Regions from separate parts of the Homo sapiens genome. Here all the other regions are linked to region 2. The links are contacts of gene promoters, found by promoter capture Hi-C in human tissues and cell types (Jung and others, 2019). All regions are on one chromosome and are shown on one strand. Each heading gives the region's core, a stretch centred on a gene start or on the middle of the fragment in contact. The rest is flanking DNA. Distances are from core to core; before and after follow the strand shown.

Region 1 (3,588 bases), core at 465-2,964, 240 kb before region 2:
ATGTAGAGCATCTTTTCATCTAATATACCCCCTTTATATCTACTTTGGCGAAGTGACTGTTCAAATCTTTTGGCCATTTTAAAAAAATTGTGTTATTTTCCTTATTGTTGACTTTGAAAGTTCTTTATGTATTCTGGATAGAAGTCCTTTGTTGCATATGCGATATGCAAATATTTTCTTACAGTCCGTAGTGTATCTCAACAGTGCCTTTTGCAGAGCAAAAGTTTTTAAATTTTATTTTTAGTATACCATTAAAAAATGTTTGGTGGATTGTGATTTTGGTACTGTATCTAAGATCTCCTTTCCCAATCCAAGGTCAAAAAGATTTCCATGTGTTTTTCTTTAGAAATTCTATAATTTTTCAGTTTTACACTTAGTTCTGTCATCTGTTTTGAGATAATTTTGAGGTATGGATCCAAATTTTTTTAAAAAAATGTTTGTTTTGTTTTTGCATGTGAATATTCATTTGTTCCTGCATCATTTGTTGAAAAGATTATTATTTTTGGCTTGATTTTGCCTTCGTGCCTTTATGGAAAATCATTTGATCCTGTATGTGTGGTTCTGTTTTTGGACTCTATTCCATTTATTTCCCTTTTTTTTTCTTTTTTTTTTTTGAGACAGAATCTCGCTCTGTCACCCAGGCTGGAGTGCAGTGGTGCAATCTTGGCTCACTGCAAGCTCCGCCTCTCGCGTTCACGCCATTCTCCTGCCTCAGTCTCCCGAGTAGCTGGGACTACAGGCGCCCGCCACCACGCCCGGCTAATTTTTTGTATTTTTAGTATAGACGGGGTTTCATCATGTTAGCCAGGATGGTCTTGATCCCCTGACTTCATGATCCTCCTGCCTCGGCCTCCCAAAGTGCTGGGATTACAGGCGTGAGCCACTGCACCTGGCCTTTTCTCTGTCTTTATGCCAATACCATACATTCTTGATTACTGATTTTTTGTAATTAGTCTTGATTTAGATAGTGTAAGTCTTCCAACTTTGCTCTTTTTCAAAATTGCATTGGCTGTCTCATTTACTTTGCCTTTCTTTATGAATTGTAGAATATTTATCAATTACGGCAAAAGAAGGTGCTACAATTTTGATTGGAGTTGCATTGAATCTTTAGAGCAGTTTGGGAAGAATGCCTTCTTAATAATAAGTCTATATCTATGATCTATTTCTTCATCTTCTTAGATCATCTTTAGTTTCTCTCAGCAGTGTTTTGTAGTTTTCAGTGTACACATCTTACTTTATCCCTAAGTTATTTCATATTTGATGCTAATGATCTTTAATTTTGATTTTTGATTTTTTTTTTATTGCTGGTATATAGAAATAGAATTGACTATTTACTATTAATATTATTTCCTACAACCTTACTAAACTTGTTTATTCTGGTACCATTTTGTAGATTCTACAAAATGTAGATTTTCTACACAGATAATCGTGCAGTTTTGATTGTACCTTTCCACTGTGGATGCCTTTATTTTTGTTTTACTTTAGACTTTTATTGGAAATACAGCAGGACTTATTTGTCTTTGTATTCCCTTTGGGGTCCCTCCCCACACATACCTTTGATGACTTTTGTTTTAGATTCTTTGTAGCGTTAGCATTGTTCTGAAGTCAGAACTATGTATATATCTATAAAAAAGGTATACTTGGGCTGGGCGTGGTGGCTCACACCTGTAATCCCAGCACTTTGGGAGGCCAAGGCAGGCAGATCATGAGGTCAGGAGTTCGAGACCAGCCTGGCCAATATGATGAAACCCCGTCTCTACTAAAAATAAAAAATTAGCTGGGTGTGGTGGTGCACACCTGTAGTCCCAGCTACTCAAGAGGCTGAGGCAGGAGAATTGCTTGAGCCTGGGAGGCAGAGGTTGCAGGGAGCCAAGATCACACCACTGCACTCCAGCCTGCGTGACTGAGTGAGACTGTCTCAAAAAAGAAGGTAAACTCAAAGGCGGTCACTCCATCTTTTTTGTCATATTTCTTTCTCATCTACATCCTCTTCCCATCTGCAACAGAAATTCAACTTTTAATTTTACCTAATTCATACTTTTCACACTTTGGGTCCTTTTCACTATTCTGTTACGGTTCTTTAAAGTAACTGCCTCTCAGATTTTACTAAAAATGTAAAATTTCCTCTTTATGAAACCTAGAACACATTGGTAGACAAAATTAAAGATGGGAGATCTGGTGGTATCATAAAAGAAGAAATTCGTCAACCAGACTGTGGGTTTCCTAGATTTTTGTTTATAGTAGGTTGTATGTTATATTTAGTTGCATTTTTCCCCCTAGAGTTTAGGTTCCATAACTTTCATCATATTTTCAGAGTAATTTATTTAAAGGAAAAAAAGTGGCCAAAATTAACCTTTAGAATGAATAAGTCTGGGCCTAACCAGTGTGAAGGTATGGTCACTGAACCTCCTGTTTCTCGAGTCTTTGCCTTCTGAAGATATGTGTATTGTAATAGATGACAGCCGCTTGCGGTTAATTCAGTAATACATGTCAGCTCCACCCCTGGCACTTTTAAACCTTTTGGCCTACTATTTTGCAAAACAGATTTTTAAGAATTAGTATGCATTTTAGAAGTTTCCTTTCAGGTTAAACTTTTTAAATAGTTATTCTTTAATAATGCTGTTAAAAGAATTTTGGGATTTCTATTGCCAAGTCACTAAAAAGTAACTCAGGCAGAGAAGGGTAAGGGTGCTGCAAGCACACATGAAGAATTAACATTTTAAAAGAACCTTTGAGCACCTTGGCACCTGTGGATTTCTTCTTGGATGTCTCATGCCTAAAAGCAGAGCAGCATACTGTAAAATCAGTAAAAGTAGGAAAGGACTTGCAAGTAGAAATGTTTCAGCAGACTCTCGCCTCCCCCATCTCCATCCTCACTCTGATGTTAAGTGTGGGGCCCATTGGGCCAGATACAGGTAAAAAGGTGGGTGATGTCATTAAAAGGTATTGTTACTTATAGCTTATTATATGTGTTAAATTTTAATAAGAATTTTCTTTTTTCTTTCTCCCAAGCCAAACTGGCAAGACGCAGTCAAGAACGGGACAATCTTGGCATGTTGGTCTGGTCACCCAATCAAAATCTGTCAGAAGCAAAGTGTAAGTCTTGGAGCACTTTATTTTCCACCTTTCTTGTTTAATGTAAGGTTTTAAAGGTACCTTTGAAGGTAAAAGCTTCTATATGTATTAAATTTCTTTTCTATTTTAAGATAAATAATTTAAAGAGTTTTAAAGTGTATATTTCTTTTTTTAAAATTTTTTATTTTTTGAGATGGATTCTGGCTCTGTTGCCCAGGCTGGAGTGCAGCAGCACGATCTGGGCTCACTGCAATCTCTGCTTCCTGGGTTCATGTGATTCTCCAGCCCCAGCCTCCTGAATAGCTGGGATTACAGGCACCCATTACCACACCCAGCTAATTTTTGTATTTTTAGTAGAGATGGGGTTTTGCCATGTTGGCCAGGCTGGTCTCAAACTCCTGACTTCAGGTGATCCGCCTGCCATGGCCTCCCAAAATGTTGGGATTACAGGTGTGAGCCACTGCGCCCTGTGATCTGTTCCATTTTTGAACATGTTCTTTCTTACAGAGCACT
Region 2 (3,277 bases), core at 569-3,068:
ATTCACCATCCACCATTCACTCATTCACCACCCATCCTTCCATCCACCCACCATCCACCACCCACCATCCACCAACCACTATTCATCTTACCATCCACCATCCACCATCTATCATCCACTATCTACCATCTGCCGCCCATCCATCCACTTAATATTCACCATCTACTCATCACCATTCACTTGTCCATTATCCACCACCCACCAACCATCATCCACCTACCATCCATCATCCACCATTTATCCATTATCTACTTATCTACCATCCATTACCCATCCATTTATCATCCTATCCACCATCTACTATCCACCCATTATCCACTATCCACTGTCTATTCACTATCCACCATCTATTCACTATCCACCGTCCATCTCCATCCACAATTCACCATTTATGCAACCATCATCCACCATCTATCCATTTACCATCTATCTATTCACCATCCACCATCCATCCATTCAGCATTCATCACTCACCAAACATCCACCATTTAACACCCACTTTTTTTTTTTTGAGATGGGGTTTCACTCTTGTTGCCCAGGCTGGAGCACAGTGGCGTGATCTCCGATCACCACAACCTCCGCCTTCCAGGTTCAAACGATTCTCCTGCCTTAGCCTCCCAAGTAGCTGGGATTACAGGCATGTGCCACCATGCCTATCTAATTTTGTATTTTTAGTAGAGATGGGGTTTCTCCATGTTGGTCAGGCTGGTCTCGAACTCCCGACCTCAGGTGATCTGCCCGCCTTGGCCTCCCAAAGTGCTGCGGTTACAGGCGTGAGCCACCGTGCCCCGCCAACACCCACTCTTTATGATCTACCTGTCGGCCATGTATCCATTTATGCCATTATCCATCCACCACTCCCTGATTACCATCCATTCCTTTTCCTTTTTTTTTTTTTTTTTTTGAGACGGAGTCTCGCTCTGTCGCTCAGGCTGGAGTGCAGCGCACGATCGTGGCTCACTGCAAGCTCCACCTCCTGGGTTCACGCCGTTCTGCCTCAGCCCCCCAAGTAGCTGGGACTACAGGCGCCTTCTACCATGCCCGGTTAATTTTTTTGTATATTTTTAGTATAGACGGGGTTTCACCGCGTTAGCCAGGATGGTCTTGATCTCCTGACCTCGCGATCCGCCTGCCTCACCCTCCCAAAGTGCTGGGATTACAGGCATGAGCCACCACGCCCGGCCATTCATTCATTTTTCACTCACCATCCTCATCCATCCATTCATCACCCATCCACCCTCTATCACTCACCATCCACCCCGTCAACCATTTACCATTCATCTGCCATGCGTCCATATGCCGTACACCATGCACCATCAATGTTGCTGTCCATCAGCTGTCCCCTACTCACCATCCACTACTCTCCACCATCATCCACAATCCACCCTCCTATACCATCCACATACCATGTTCCATCCAGGATCTTCCTTCTATCATCCAACCACCACCCACAGCCCATGGGACAGGGGCACTGCGTGGAGAAGTGGACACCCAGTTCCAATGGTGAGCAGACTAGCTCAGCCCTAGCAGCACACAGGACAGAGAAAGGGGTGAATTCAAAGGTCGTTTATTCCCCCTCCCGGCAAGACACCCATTTTACAGGGTAGGTCAGTCTCGCCAAGCCCTTCTTCTTTGCCCTTCTTCCTGAGAACCTAAGGTGTTCAGGCCCTGCAGGGGCGGGTAAGGGGAGGCTGAGAAGGTGCCTCCCAGGGGCCTGAAGAGTCGGCCCTGGGCGGGTCTGGAGGTAAATGTGTAACCGACCCTGGTGCCCCCACCCGACCTGCCTGGTCACGTGGGTCCAGTGGGGCAAAGTCTCCTGGTGGGGTGCAAGGAGCCGAGGCGAGATGGGCGTCCTGGGCCGGGTCCTGCTGTGGCTGCAGCTCTGCGGTGAGCCGGGACCACACCGGTGCGGGCCCGGACGGTAGCGGTCTGTCAGGACCCAGGGCCGAGGTCGCTCTAGGCCTGGAGGGTGAAGATCTTCCGAGGAGTGGGCAGGGAGGGCTTTGGAGGGTTGGGGGCGTGAAACTCGGCCCTGCCTCCCTCGTCTGGCGAGTGCGCAGCCCGGAAGTGCGCGGCCAGTGCATCGGGCGGTGCGGGAGAGGAGAGGAGGGGCTCCGGGAACCTCGGCCAGCCCCGGCCTCCGGCGGCTCCTGCCCTCGCGGTTTTTCCGTCTGCGAAATGGGCGCGGTCCCCAGAACCTGCCGAGAGCAGCGAGTGTGCGCCTGCGGGGCTCGGCAGACCGCCTCAGCTTCCCGGTCCCCAAGGGAGCACTGAGCCCTCCTCCGCCTTCACACCAGGCCGGCGCGTGTCCCTGGCGCCCCCTTCCCTAAACCCCTCGCGGCTCCCTCAGGACAACCCCACCCACCACATTCAGGGCCGGCCTGACCTGGTCCTGCCGCCCCCAGCCCCTTCTTACTTCTCATACCGGGTTGCGCTCTGTCGCAGCTCTTCCCGGCCCAGGTAGGACTCCTCCGGGAAGCCTTCCTGATTCCAAGGCCGAGAAGAGGTCTGTGCTGCCCCATCCTCCTCCATGCCCCAGTTGTCACTGTCCTTAACAACGCTGTCCTCTGCTCCAGCGCCAGGCAAACTGGGGGCAGTGCCGGGAGGCTATCTAGGCAGGCGTCCTGCAGGGCGCGTTTGAGCGGGCTCTGCAGGTATCAGTAGAAGTCCGTTGGAGAGCGCCCGGGCAGGGCGCCCACAGTCTGGCCGGGAGGGACCAGGGTCTGGGTCCGGGCCCCCGGGGATGGGGTTCCTATGCGTCCCGGGTGATCCGCGCGGACCTTCCGCACTTCTCTGGGTGGGTGGCCTTCCCTGAGAAGGGAGCATCCCGGAGAGCATCCCGGGCACTCAGTCGCCTCCTCCCCAGCACTGACCCAGGCGGTCTCCAAACTCTGGGTCCCCAACACGGACTTCGACGTCGCAGCCAACTGGAGCCAGAACCGGACCCCGTGCGCCGGCGGCGCCGTTGAGTTCCCGGCGGACAAGGTGCCTGGGAGCGCCGGCGGGGTCGGTGATGGGCCTGGACCCCTGAGACCGTGTGGCCCCGGTGGGGGTTGCTCCCGGCTCGGCTGAGGCAGCTTCTTCCTGCAGATGGTGTCAGTCCTGGTGCAAGAAGGTCACGCCGTCTCAGACATGGTAAGGCCGGGCTGCTACTGCCACTGGGCTGGGGGTTCACAGAGTCTCTGAAGCGCCTTCAGGGACTGCTGTGCCTTGAGGGCGGACCCCACCGGCATGGAGGCACTGCAGGACTGGGACTTTGGCCTCTGGAGAATATTCT
Region 3 (3,668 bases), core at 1,019-3,518, 130 kb after region 2:
GGCATGCTGGTGCGTGCCTGTAGTCCCAGCTACTCGGGAGGCTGAGGCAGGAGAATTACTTGAACCCAGGAGATGGAGGTTGTAGTGAGCCAAGATCATGCCACTGCACTCCAGCCTAGGCAACACAGTGAGACTCGTCTCCAAAGAAAAGAAAGAAAAGGTAAACAAAATATTCAGATTTTAACATGCACCAAAGACCTCACTTTCAAAGCAACGGTGAAGTCAATTAATTATTCAGTTGGAAATCGTGTCACTGACAAAGGACGCTAGAAAGCAAATACTCTTAATTTACTGATACTATAAGTAACCAAGAATGGTGGTTCCCACGGAAATAAAGCATCACAGGCTGTCCTTGATCTCAGGACCTCTTTCTACTGCTGCTCTCACAAGATACCGTGTAACATTTCACTACAGAGTAATCCAACAGAAGCCCTCTAAAGAATATTGCAACTTAAGTTTTATTTGTAAACAAAATTCCAAATTCCAGTCACCAATCTGGCAGAGTAGAGTAGGAGGCCTGGAGGCCTCACTGTGGAACACTTTCATTTGTTTCTTCGTATAAATATCAGCTTTATCAGCCCCAAAGATTAGAAATTACTGGTTCGAACTGAACAGTCCTAGCCCAGTGACGCAAATGACCCAAGGATAAGGTTTTCATAGGTTTGGCCTGAACATACGCATTTCCTCCTCCTACTCAGTGGTTTTAGGTGAGACAGTCTGAGGGTCTTGACCGGCACACCCGTTAGGGAGAGATGAAGTAAAAGAGTTTCACGCTGCACTTTTACCTGTCTTTAGGATCCTAATTATCGTTAAATGGTTTAATCAAATTTTTGTCCTAAAAAAGCATAATAGGTTAGCTGACCAATGATTAAAACATTATAGATCCGGAACGAACTAGAGAAGGCATGCAAAATTCAGATGAGAAAGTTTCTAAGTGATAGCTCCAGCTACCCCTCCAAATATCACAAAGGTCTAGCAGAATTGGAATTAAAAAAAAAAAGTCCTCTTGCACGGTTTATTTAAAATAAAGCCTTAACCTTAAAATTCCCTTGAAGGTGTTACAGCAAAGTAGGTATTCAGGCTCTGACCAACAAGGGGATGTAGACAGGCTGTCACCCAGGAGGGGCCGTTAGAGCTGGGCTCCCTGGGGATGCAAGGGGGTCCCACGGGGCAGTGGGCGAGGCAGATGCAGAAAGCACACCCAGCTGCCCCCACAACGCAGAGAAGCGTGGGGTGGGGAAAGGGAACTAATTCCACACTGCCTCCGGACCCCAAAGGCGAGGTGCGGGGGCGGGGGCGGGGGCGGGGGCGGATATCCCAGTGAGTGCTGCAGGAAATGATATCCAGACTCGGAGGGTGGATCTAGGAAGCCGCCAGGGCGAGGGCCCGGCGGGGGGGAGGGGGTGGGAGTGGGAACGTAGGATGTGGCTCCAAGGGGCAGGATGAGGGGGCGGGACGATCGAACGCGGATGTCGAGCCTAGGGAGGGCAAGGAGGGATGAAAAGCTAGCGGAGGGACGAGGGTGCAAGGAGCGGCTGGAGAGAGATGGGCTGCGGGCCTGGGGGCGCTGCCAGAGCGAGAGGAGGCGAAGCCCACGAGCTGGGTGGGCAGGAGGGCGGCAGGGTCTGTCCGGGCGGGGATGGGCGGGCGTGGGGATGCGCGGGCTGGGGCGCGGGGGTCGCAGAGCCGCAGGTCCGGCCCTGCCGGCGCGCACTTACCCCACTCGAGGAACTCGGCCACGTACTTGTCGCGGCGCAGGGCCGAGTGGCTGCACTCGGTGTACAGGCAGACGAGCACGTCGAGCAGCGTTTCCACGCTCAGGGCGCTCTCGTTGCGCCAGGGCCCGTCCAGGAGCAGCTGCTCCAGCTTCTTGAGCCGCACCTTGGCCGACATGGTGCCGCGCGGCCCGCTCCCGACGCGCCGGCCTCTCACCGCCGGCTCGGCCAGTCCGTCAGGGCGCGCCCTCGGGGGCTCGGCGGCTGCGAGCCCCGGCAGCAGCGGCGCCTCCTCGCCGCCCCGTCCGCGTCGTCGCGCCCCGGCCTAGGCCGACATCTTGGGCTCCGTCCCGACGGCGCAGAGTCTGGGGCGCCGGGCCCCGCGGGTCCATGGGCCGCTCTCCTCCCCTCGGCGCCGCCGCCCTCCCAGCTCGGGCGGCCCGCCCCCGCCGCCCTCAGCCCCGCCCGCGGCCGCGCCCTCCCCGCCGCCGCCGCCGCAGACTAGGAGCGGCGAGGAGCCTAGCGCTGCGCAAGCCCGGCCGGCGCCCGAGCCCGACCCCAGCCCCGACCCGGCGGCCCAGCCCCGCGGCCCGCAGCCAACCAGGGCGCGGCCAGCACCAGCGCAGCCAACCACTACGGGGCCGGCCGCCGCCGCGCTGACCTCAGCGCGCCGCCCCGCCCCGCGCCCGGCTCCCTGCTCCCGGCGGGCTCGGGCCTCGCCGCTTGCCGTAGGGAGCCGGGATGCTGGGAAGGCAGGGCCGGGCCTGGGGAGCGGCGCGGGGTGGGGGTGGGGGGGGCGGGGCGGGGCGAGTGGGCCGCTGAGATTGCGGAGCCCGCGCATGCGCAGAGCGCGCCTGGTGGGCGTGTGCGCCTTCGCCCTGCGGACCCGGTGCCTTCAGTATTCGGGGTCCGACCGCGCGCGTCGCGGATCCCGGGGCCGAAGACGACCCCAAGTATCGGAGAGGCAGAGTCGCGATCTCAGGCCGTCGAGCCCCGTCCCGCAGTCCGCGGGCCCATGTTGCCTGCGGGGCCTCGGACCTGCCCGGCCGAGGTGGGGGTCGAGGGCGGCCCGGCAGGCGCAGCTCTGATGGCCTCGGCGGGTTGTGGGCTATTTAAAACGGCTTGTCCCAGCTCGAAGCGGTCCTGGAAGACTCGGGCCCTACCCCTGACTTTACCGATGAGAGACTGAGGCCCAGACGGTGTGGGGTCAGGGCCCAGGCTTCTGGGGGATGCTGCCAAGGCGGGAGCCAGCGTCCCCAGTGCCCGGTGGATTCGTGATGGCTTGCAGAGGGTTTCAGTTTCCACTGTCCAGCCCTCCCTGCAGACCAATGCCTAGGTGTGACAGTTTGGTAGGAAAGGGGCCGGATATTTGTCTCCAGGCTGGGTTTGCCTAGCGAGTCGCTGCATTTACTAAGATTGTTGGTTAATTTGGGTGGCTGGGGGAGGGAGGCTGATGGAGATACCCCCCAACCCCAACAAACCCTTGGCGTCAGGAGAGGAGGGGCTTTTCCTGGAGCTTGCGGAAGGTCACCGAAATCGTGGGGGTATCTGAGAGCTTCTGGGGCGCGCGGGTGCAGGGGAAGGGGTCATGCTTCCGTGGAAGCGGTGGCCTCCAGGTGGAGCCGATGAAGGGGCAGATAGGGGTTTGAAGCAGGACGTTAAGGGAGCCTGAAGCAAAACTAATCTCTGGAGCTAAAAATAGGAGTGGGCCTGGCGCGGTGGCTCACACCTGTAATCCCAGCACTTTAGGAGGCCGAGGTGGGCGGATTGCCTGAGCTCAGGACTTCGAGACCAGCCTGGGCAACACGGTGAAACCCCGTCTCTACTAAAATACAAAAAACTAGCCGGGCGTGGTGGCGCGCGCCTGTAGTCCCAGCTACTCGAGAGGCTAAGGCAGGAGAATTACTTGAACCCGGGAGGCGAAAGTGCAGTGAGCCAAGATCGCTCCACTGC
Region 4 (3,764 bases), core at 1,025-3,524, 160 kb before region 2:
CCACCAATTTTCATTTGCACTTGAATGTCTACCCCGTTTTACTCTATTGTATCTCCTTAGACTTGAAAGTAAACCTTAGCTCATTCTAATGAAAGCCATGCAAAGCTCAGCCAGAAATTTAATCGTATTTACTAAGAAGCTAATAAATATTTACTACAAAATTCATTGCTCCGTAAAATTGAAGACAACACTTTCTGCATGCTTTTTCAGCTGTGAGGCCAGGCTGGGGAAGAGGGGGAGACAGTCTGGGAAGGAGAGAGGAAGGATCCGACTTGTTTCCTTGTTAGAGCTAAACTGTGGTCTTCCCTCCAATGTTTTCTGCAATGGGAACCCATCACTTGCCATGACTTTGATCTGAGCTTGATCGTTTTATTCAGAAGGAAAGCTTTCCTACAAGCAATTCATTTCCGTTGCATTTCCAAACCAGATCTATTTGATTATGCATGGGAAGCTTACAACATTTTCCACTGAGACGGTTTTTGAATTAACTGAAAACTTAGCTGTTTCATAATTTCTGAATTGTAGATTTTTGGCTCCCCTTCTTGGTCTCATAACTCCATCGATGGGTCTTTTTAAATCTGAAATTTGCCATAGGCTGAGTCCTCAAAGAAAGATATATACCCTTGACATTTGAAAGAAATTAATGGAAAATCACTAAATCCCTTCAAATGCTACATCGAAATGTAGTTACAACTCTTTCCTCAGGCCCAGTGAGGATTGAATCATAGCAAAATCTTCATGTTTAATATTGAAATTTTATCCAGGAGACCCCCCCCAAAAAAATGCCTTGCAACGGGCAGCTCAGCATTTCCCAGACCTGCTGGGAGCGCTCTCTGGCTCTAACTTGGAGCTGTGGCAACTGGAAGATGAACCCGTGAACCTGGCTTTTCCCAAACTGCAAGTCTAAGGCTCCAGAGAAGTCAGAGCCCCAAGGGCTAAAGCATGAGCCATGGTTGGGGGTTCTCTGGAAACACACCAACAGCTGCTTCCCATTTGCCTCCAGAATCTTCAGGAGCTCAGAGCCTCTCAGTGTGTGTGTCACACCTGCTCACGTGCCGTTGGCTGAAGCAAGTGACATGGCTGGGCCCAAACGGAAGGAGTGGGGAGCAGATCCTCTCCGTAGAAGGAACAAAGTCAGATGCCAAGGGGCACGGGCGCAGAGATAGGAGGACGGTGCACCACCCTGCAGTCCGCACTGAGCCCTGCCAGCACCACATTCATGGGCTGCTGCACCCATTCCCTAACCGTGGTGAGTGCGGGCTGTTGACAGCACGCCCGCCTCCTTTTCAGAGCACGGCCTTGGCTGACAGGAGCCACACATCCTGGCTGTGCTCTTCCTCACTGCCTGGGAGTCACAGCCGATGGCTGGCCGGGCCCCCTTTCTTCAAGGCGGGGCAAAGCAGTGGTGTGGGCTGTGGTCCAGAGAGCACCTGACTTGAGCCTACACCCTTGCTCGGCTCTTTCCCCTTCCCCGTGCCGCTGTCTTCCCTCCCTCCCAGGCGTTTATTGAAGAGCCTTCCCTCAATAAGCCACGCGCCCTGAATCCCTGCTCCAGCTCCACTTCCCGGGACCTCCAGGGCCAAGGCGGTGCTTTCCAAGGGTGGTCCATGGTGTTTCCTGCCCAGCACGCTTTTCGACACTGCGGTCTGACGCTCCTTCTGAGATAGGGGAGGTCTGTGTCCCCTCCCCTTGAGTCTGGGCAGGCAGGTGACTTGCTTGTAGCCAGTGGGGTATGGCAGAAGTGACACTATGTGACGTCCGATGGTGGTCGTCAGTGTGGCACAGGAACACCTGCTCTCAAAGCTGCCAGACTGCCTGCCTGCTGCGAGGAGGCCGGGGGCACCCCTGTGGGCACACGCCTGGCCAGCCCCACACTAGTCAACTCCAGCCGTTGTCCGAAGGCAACTGCAGGACAGACTCCAGCTAAACCTTGCCCGAGTTCCTGACCCCCAGAAATCTGGAGAAAATAAAAAAAAGATCGTTGTTATTTAAGCCACTAGGTTTTGTTTGTTTGTTTTGTGTTTGTTTTTTTTTTTTTTTGAGACGGGGTTTCGCTCTTGTTGCCCAGGCTGGAGTGCAATGGCACGATCTTGGCTCACTGCAACCGCCACCTCCCCGGTTCAAGTGATTCTCCTGCCTCAGCCTCCCGAGTAGCTGGGATTACAGGCATGTGCCACCATGCCCGGCTAATTTTGTATTTTTAGTAGAGATGGGGTTTCTCCATGTTGGTCAGGCTGGTTTCAAACTCCCGACCTCAGGTGATCCACCCGCCTCGGCCTCCCAAAGTGCTGGGATTACAGGCGTGAGCCACCGCTCCTGGCTGAATGGTCTTTTTTCTCTGTTGGAAACCCTGGAAGCCTGCCCATTTCCAGAGGGCCTGAGGTGTCTCTGGGTCTCCTCTCAGACTTCTGCATCTCCAACCTGCTGGAGCAGGCCCACACCCTGGGCTGTGTGTCTCTGAAAGAGGAGCTGGAGTTTCAAGGACTAGGAGAGTGGGGAGGGGCCAGGAAACACGTGGCCCTGCAGTCAGAGCTCTCAGGAGTTGGGATTCTGTGTAGAGATGTTGGTGTTTATTCCCAGCCCTCAGGGGCTGCCCACTCTTCAGTCTTTGGGGGGAGGCTGAGGATGGTGAGCAGGTTGGGGGAGGAAGGGGGAAGCATGAGCAGGGTCGGGGACTGGTGGGGAAGGAATAGAGTGGTAGGGAATGGCAGGCATGGGGGGAATTGCAAGGGGGTTGTAGGGAGAATAAGGGAGGATGGTGGGGGAACTGGTTGGGGGAATGGGGGTAGAATAGGAGGATGGGGAGGGATGGGGGAAATGCTGGGGGGGAATGGTGGCAGGTATAAGGGGATGGGAGGGGTGGGTAGAGTCAGGGAATGGCTTGGAGGAAATTCCAGCACTTTTGAAATTTTCCCAACTTCAATGCATCTAAATGATGCTACTGGATTTTGCCTCGTTATGAAAAGCATTAGAAGTTGTATGTTTAGGGCCAGGCGCGGTGGCTCATGCCTGTAATCCCAGCACTTTGGGAGGCCGAGGTGGGCGTATTACAATGTCAGGAGATCAAGACCATCCTGGCTAACACAGTGAAACCCCGTCTCTACTAAAAATAAAAAAATTAGCCGGGTGTGGTGGCGGGCGCCTGTAGTCCCAGCTACTCGGGAGGCTGAGGCAGGAGAATGGTGTGAACCCGGGAGGCAGAGCTTGCAGTGAGCCGAGATTGTGCCACGGCACTCCAGCCTGGGCGACAGAGCGAGACTCTGTCTCAAAAAAAAAAAAAAAAAAAAAAAAAAAAAAGTTGTATGTTTAGGCTGATTTTTTATTATTATTATTATTCCTGACCAAATGTCAGAAATTCTATTGCATTTTTAGGGTTTCAGGTCCTTTGACTACCCACTGGCAGCTGGACACCCATTCAAGGGCAAAAAACCCCACAACCCACAGTTCTGAAAACAACGTCAGCGAATTCATGGCTGCCCCTCTTCAGAGTCCACGCAGAGGGTTATGAAGCCTGGGTGCAGTGAAGTTAAAGAGGTGGGGAGGAAAGGGGGCCACCGGCTCACATGTGTGGGGTTCACAGGAGGGCAGTGGCAATGACAGACCCCCAGCCCGGCTGGGCAACTTTGCAGGGTTTACAGTTTAACAGGCTCAGAAAAGACCCCGTTCTTCAACTGTACAGTGGACGGAGTGAACGAACGAATTTTTTTTTTTTTTGAGACGGAGTCTCGCTCTGTCGCCCAGGCTGGAGTGCGGTGGCGCCATCT
Region 5 (3,723 bases), core at 321-2,820, 200 kb before region 2:
TTACTTCAGTTCAATCCTATGTGGTAGTAAGCCCAGGGATTTCTTCTGTCTTTTATGTAAGACTCCAGGTAGGTGTTTTGCTGCTCAGGTATCACCTGTTAGGAAGCTGTGGATCCAGGACTGTGTACGTGAGAGCCCTCCGTCCCCTCCTCCTTGGGTTGTACCTTATCTGTTGCTCTGAACAAGCAAATAATAAACCTAGTTAGATGCTTCAAAGGATACCATAGGGATCTCAGAATTCAGCTACAACAGATGTTAGTAACGTCTTTACTCTTGGGTTTTTGTTTCTTTAGGTTTTTAAGTTCTGTTTTCATACCTTTATATAGTTTTTATTTTTAAAATGAAAATTATTTTTTCCTTCCTAGATCCAGAATATTAAACAGACAAACAGTGCTCTCAAAGAAAAACTTGATGGTGGAATAGAACCATATCGACTTCCAGAGGTAGGATTATGTTAACATCATCTTAGAAGTCATATTCAAGTTTTACATGTTTAAGAATTTAATATCGGTGTGATACATCCCCAGTATACATCTCTTGGAAGAGTATATGGACATAATTTTATGAACCCAGTTGATGTTAAAATTCCGATAAGAGAAAATGAAAGGTTCGTTAAGCTCATAAGGACATACTCATCTCTAAATGTAATGTGCTAAAATGACTCATTTGGATATCCAGGTCATTCAGAAATGTAATGCACGTTGGACTACAGAAGAGCAGCTTCTCGCCGTACAAGGTAGGGGGAAGTTCTTCTAAAGAGTTTAGGAGGCCGGCTGTGGTGGCTCACACCTGTAATCCCAACATTTTGGAAGGTTGACGCATTTGCTTGAGCCCAGGAGCTCAAGGCTGCATTGATCCATGATCACACCACTGCATTCCAGCCTGGACAACAGAGGGAGACCCTGACTTTAAAAAAAAAAAATTTTTTTTTTAATGGAAAAAAAAGAGCTTAGGAGCATTGGTAGATTTTAGGGAAAAGTTACGTCCTGCCCTACTCCCAGCACCTAGATTCTTGGACAATTATGTCCTAGTGGATATCATTTTAGCCAAATTACTGTATTCCTTTGGGCTTTTTTCTTTTCCTTTCCCACTTCTCACAAGTTGTAAAAACTTAACCGGGAACCCTGAGTCTTCTAAAGGTGTATTTCATTTTACTAGTTACTCATCGAGCTCTGACTAGCCAGGAAGTACAAAACCCCAAAAGAAGCAGACAGAGTGTTCAGCTTTAAAGGTTGGGGGTGCTCTGGACCTGCGATACCAAAAGATGAATGCAGAATGTCCCCAACCCTAGGGCAATTGCTGGGTGACTTCAGCTGTTATGTGACATGTAATGGGAAGACAGATATCAAAATGACAGGGTCGGTCATCTCCAGAATGTGTCTAGAATTGGCTGGTACTTTTTCCTACTCTAATAATACACGAAATTATTGCCTGCTGTTAAAAGCCTGTATGTTTTCTTATCTGGATAAAGAGGTAAGTGTCACTTGTGGTTTTAAAAAAATGTTTTTCTCTTGTATTTTAAAAAATGCTTTCTTACATCCTTAGCCATCAGGAAATATGGCCGAGATTTTCAGGCAATCTCAGACGTGATTGGGAACAAATCAGTGGTACAAGTGAAAAACTTTTTTGTAAATTATCGACGCCGCTTCAACATAGATGAAGTTTTACAAGAATGGGAGGCAGAACATGGTAAAGAAGAGACCAATGGGCCCAGTAACCAGAAGCCTGTGAAGTCCCCAGATAATTCCATTAAGATGCCCGAAGAGGAAGACGAGGTAAATCTGAAACAAAACAGTCACTTCTCTTGTCAGGTTCACGCTTGATACTCCAGTTTCTAAAGTGATGAATTTTTTCAGCTATAGAGATTTTTAGGTATCAGCTGTATTAGTAACTTCACTCTTACCTGTAAATAGCCGGAATGTGTATGCATTGACTCCAGTTCTTGGTGCCTGTATATTATTCACATGTTAATTTCTGGGCAAATCCTGAATTACATCCTGATTTCCTCCAGCTACAAAATACTCTGCATTATCAGTTTTTCCTTAAATACAGTAAAATCTTGAGTGACAAAGACAGGGGAGTGGGGGCATAAACAAAAAGTAAAAATGCAGTGAAAGCTGTCCTGTCTGTGAGGGATGTCGATGAAGCTCCGTCATCTGCAATGTGCAGTCACATCATCATGACGCAGCACAGCGAGCCAGCCAGGAGCTCCTGAGGCCTCTCCCTGCTGTCCAGATCTTTCAGCCTTTGATGCTCTTTGGGGCTGATTGGCTTAAGTATTGATGGGGACAGTTCTGTGGCTGGCTGGAACTTCTGTGATGGTGGCTAATTTCTGGAATGATAACCCTGGTCTCATCTGTCACCTCCCTGCTTCCTGTGTCAGGGGCACCTGCCATTTCCCCATCTAGCCTGGCCTGCCTTGCTGTTACATTTGTCCCTCTATTCCCAGAGCAGATGAGCCTGGGGCTGGGCATAAGAAAGAGTTACTTGCCAATCACTTTGCATCTGAATTTGTTCACAGGCATGGTAATTTAAGAATTAATTTAGCTTTGTAAGGAAAGTCACTTTCACATCAAAGCCTTTTCAAACCATACTGGAATGTTTTGAGATTACCTATTTTGTATTGCGTGTGCTACCATTTTGCTCCAAGGGCCTGGCTCTGGAAACAGCCCAGAAGGCCCCTCCTGACCTGAGCATGGAAGTACCTCGTGAGGTATTGGCATCCCCTGGGAGCGTGGTGCCGCCACTCCATGCAGGGCCTCTTTGCTGACTGGAGAAAGGACCTCAAGGCACAGCCATCTGTAAGAACACCATTGAAACATATTAAATTTGTTAGAATTAGATTCTTTAGAGCCTTTTGCCAGAAAATCTTTATAATAAGTGTACCACGTCTATAATATTGCCAAGGTCAGTACCCCTGAATCACCCCCATGCATAGCTCTGCCTGAAAAGAGCATGTGAATTAAATGATGGTGTTTTTATCTTTCAGCAGTGATTTTTTTCTTTATTATTATTTCTTTTTATTTTCAGTGATTTTTGTACCAGCACTAATTGCCCCTGTTAGCACTCAGTTTCGGAAGCATTGAAAAGCTGGAGACTGCTGGGGAAGAACCATTAGAATTTGCAGGAATGAAAGCTTGCTTCTTGTGTGTGTGTTTTCCGGCTTCGGTCCCAGGATGACTGGAAGCAGAAACAGTTGGGAACGCTGGCTCTATTCCCTCTTCGCATTTGATCAAAGCCAGTGTTGGCTGGGCTGGCATAACAAATCTCATAGTAAATTTAGGACCAAGAGTCCCTACCAACAGGATGTCAGTTGTTGTGCATATGTTTTTTTCTTCATTCTCTTATTCTTGGATCATTGGTTGACTGACTTAAGTGAGTCAAGTATTTTTTTTTTAACCTTGTTATTAGCCCAGAAGGTTCTTCCGTAATGATCCACTTACCGTGTGGATTGCATTATCAAAGTACCGTCTTTCTTTTCACAGTCTAGTTATGGCTCCTCCAAGCAGCAGATCATAGTTTTTCCTTGGTGATTGATCTTCCATGTCTCTATTTACCCAGCCTTCTCTGCAAAACAAAATGAAGAATGGTATTATCTAACTCGTGTTTAGTTTCATAGTCCTTATATCCCTTTACAAACTTTTTCACTCCGCTAGTCATTTAAAATGTACCCCCTCATACCTTTCTTTTCTTTTTTTTTTGAGACAGAGTCTCCCTCTGTCA

Evidence for each region. Contacts are between HindIII fragments. The study calls those that stand out against the background at their distance.
Region 1: a fragment that was not itself captured here is called in contact with the fragment with the promoter of AMN in region 2 in 5 of the 25 tissues and cell types used here (H1 embryonic stem cells, IMR-90 fibroblasts, dorsolateral prefrontal cortex and 2 more).
Region 3: a contact is called between the fragment with the promoter of CDC42BPB here and the fragment with the promoter of AMN in region 2, in 1 of the 25 tissues and cell types used here (small bowel).
Region 4: a fragment that was not itself captured here is called in contact with the fragment with the promoter of AMN in region 2 in 1 of the 25 tissues and cell types used here (IMR-90 fibroblasts).
Region 5: a fragment that was not itself captured here is called in contact with the fragment with the promoter of AMN in region 2 in 3 of the 25 tissues and cell types used here (lymphoblastoid cells, mesendoderm cells and spleen).

Annotation. Positions count from the first base shown.
Region 1 is chr14:102,678,883-102,682,470 of GRCh38, forward strand. It overlaps RCOR1 (REST corepressor 1), which reads left to right. Exons shown (of 12, transcript NM_015156.4): 3 at 3,013-3,096. Among named protein-coding and RNA genes, the nearest start is that of RCOR1, 88 kb to the left of the region's middle. The HindIII fragment of the contact is 3,359 bases long and covers 36-3,394 here.
Region 2 is chr14:102,920,845-102,924,121 of GRCh38, forward strand. It overlaps AMN (amnion associated transmembrane protein), which reads left to right and starts at 1,819. Exons shown (of 12, transcript NM_030943.4): 1 at 1,819-1,887; 2 at 2,867-2,985; 3 at 3,091-3,135. The coding sequence starts at 1,845. RefSeq lists a silencer at 2,043-2,242. The HindIII fragment of the contact is 38,072 bases long and covers 1-3,277 here.
Region 3 is chr14:103,055,281-103,058,948 of GRCh38, forward strand. It overlaps CDC42BPB (CDC42 binding protein kinase beta), which reads right to left and starts at 2,269. Exons shown (of 37, transcript NM_006035.4): 1 at 1,719-2,269. The coding sequence starts at 1,893. RefSeq lists silencers at 1,941-2,020, 2,111-2,610, 2,651-2,760 and an enhancer at 2,756-3,406. The HindIII fragment of the contact is 24,533 bases long and covers 1-3,668 here.
Region 4 is chr14:102,759,667-102,763,430 of GRCh38, forward strand. LOC124903390 (a long non-coding RNA gene) reads left to right here. Exons shown (of 2, transcript XR_007064356.1): 2 at 1-1,996. Among named protein-coding and RNA genes, the nearest start is that of TRAF3, 16 kb to the right of the region's middle. The HindIII fragment of the contact is 3,713 bases long and covers 419-3,764 here.
Region 5 is chr14:102,720,642-102,724,364 of GRCh38, forward strand. RCOR1 (REST corepressor 1) reads left to right here. Exons shown (of 12, transcript NM_015156.4): 9 at 366-443; 10 at 679-736; 11 at 1,546-1,775. Among named protein-coding and RNA genes, the nearest start is that of TRAF3, 55 kb to the right of the region's middle. RefSeq lists an enhancer at 1,433-2,632. The HindIII fragment of the contact is 7,835 bases long and covers 1-3,723 here.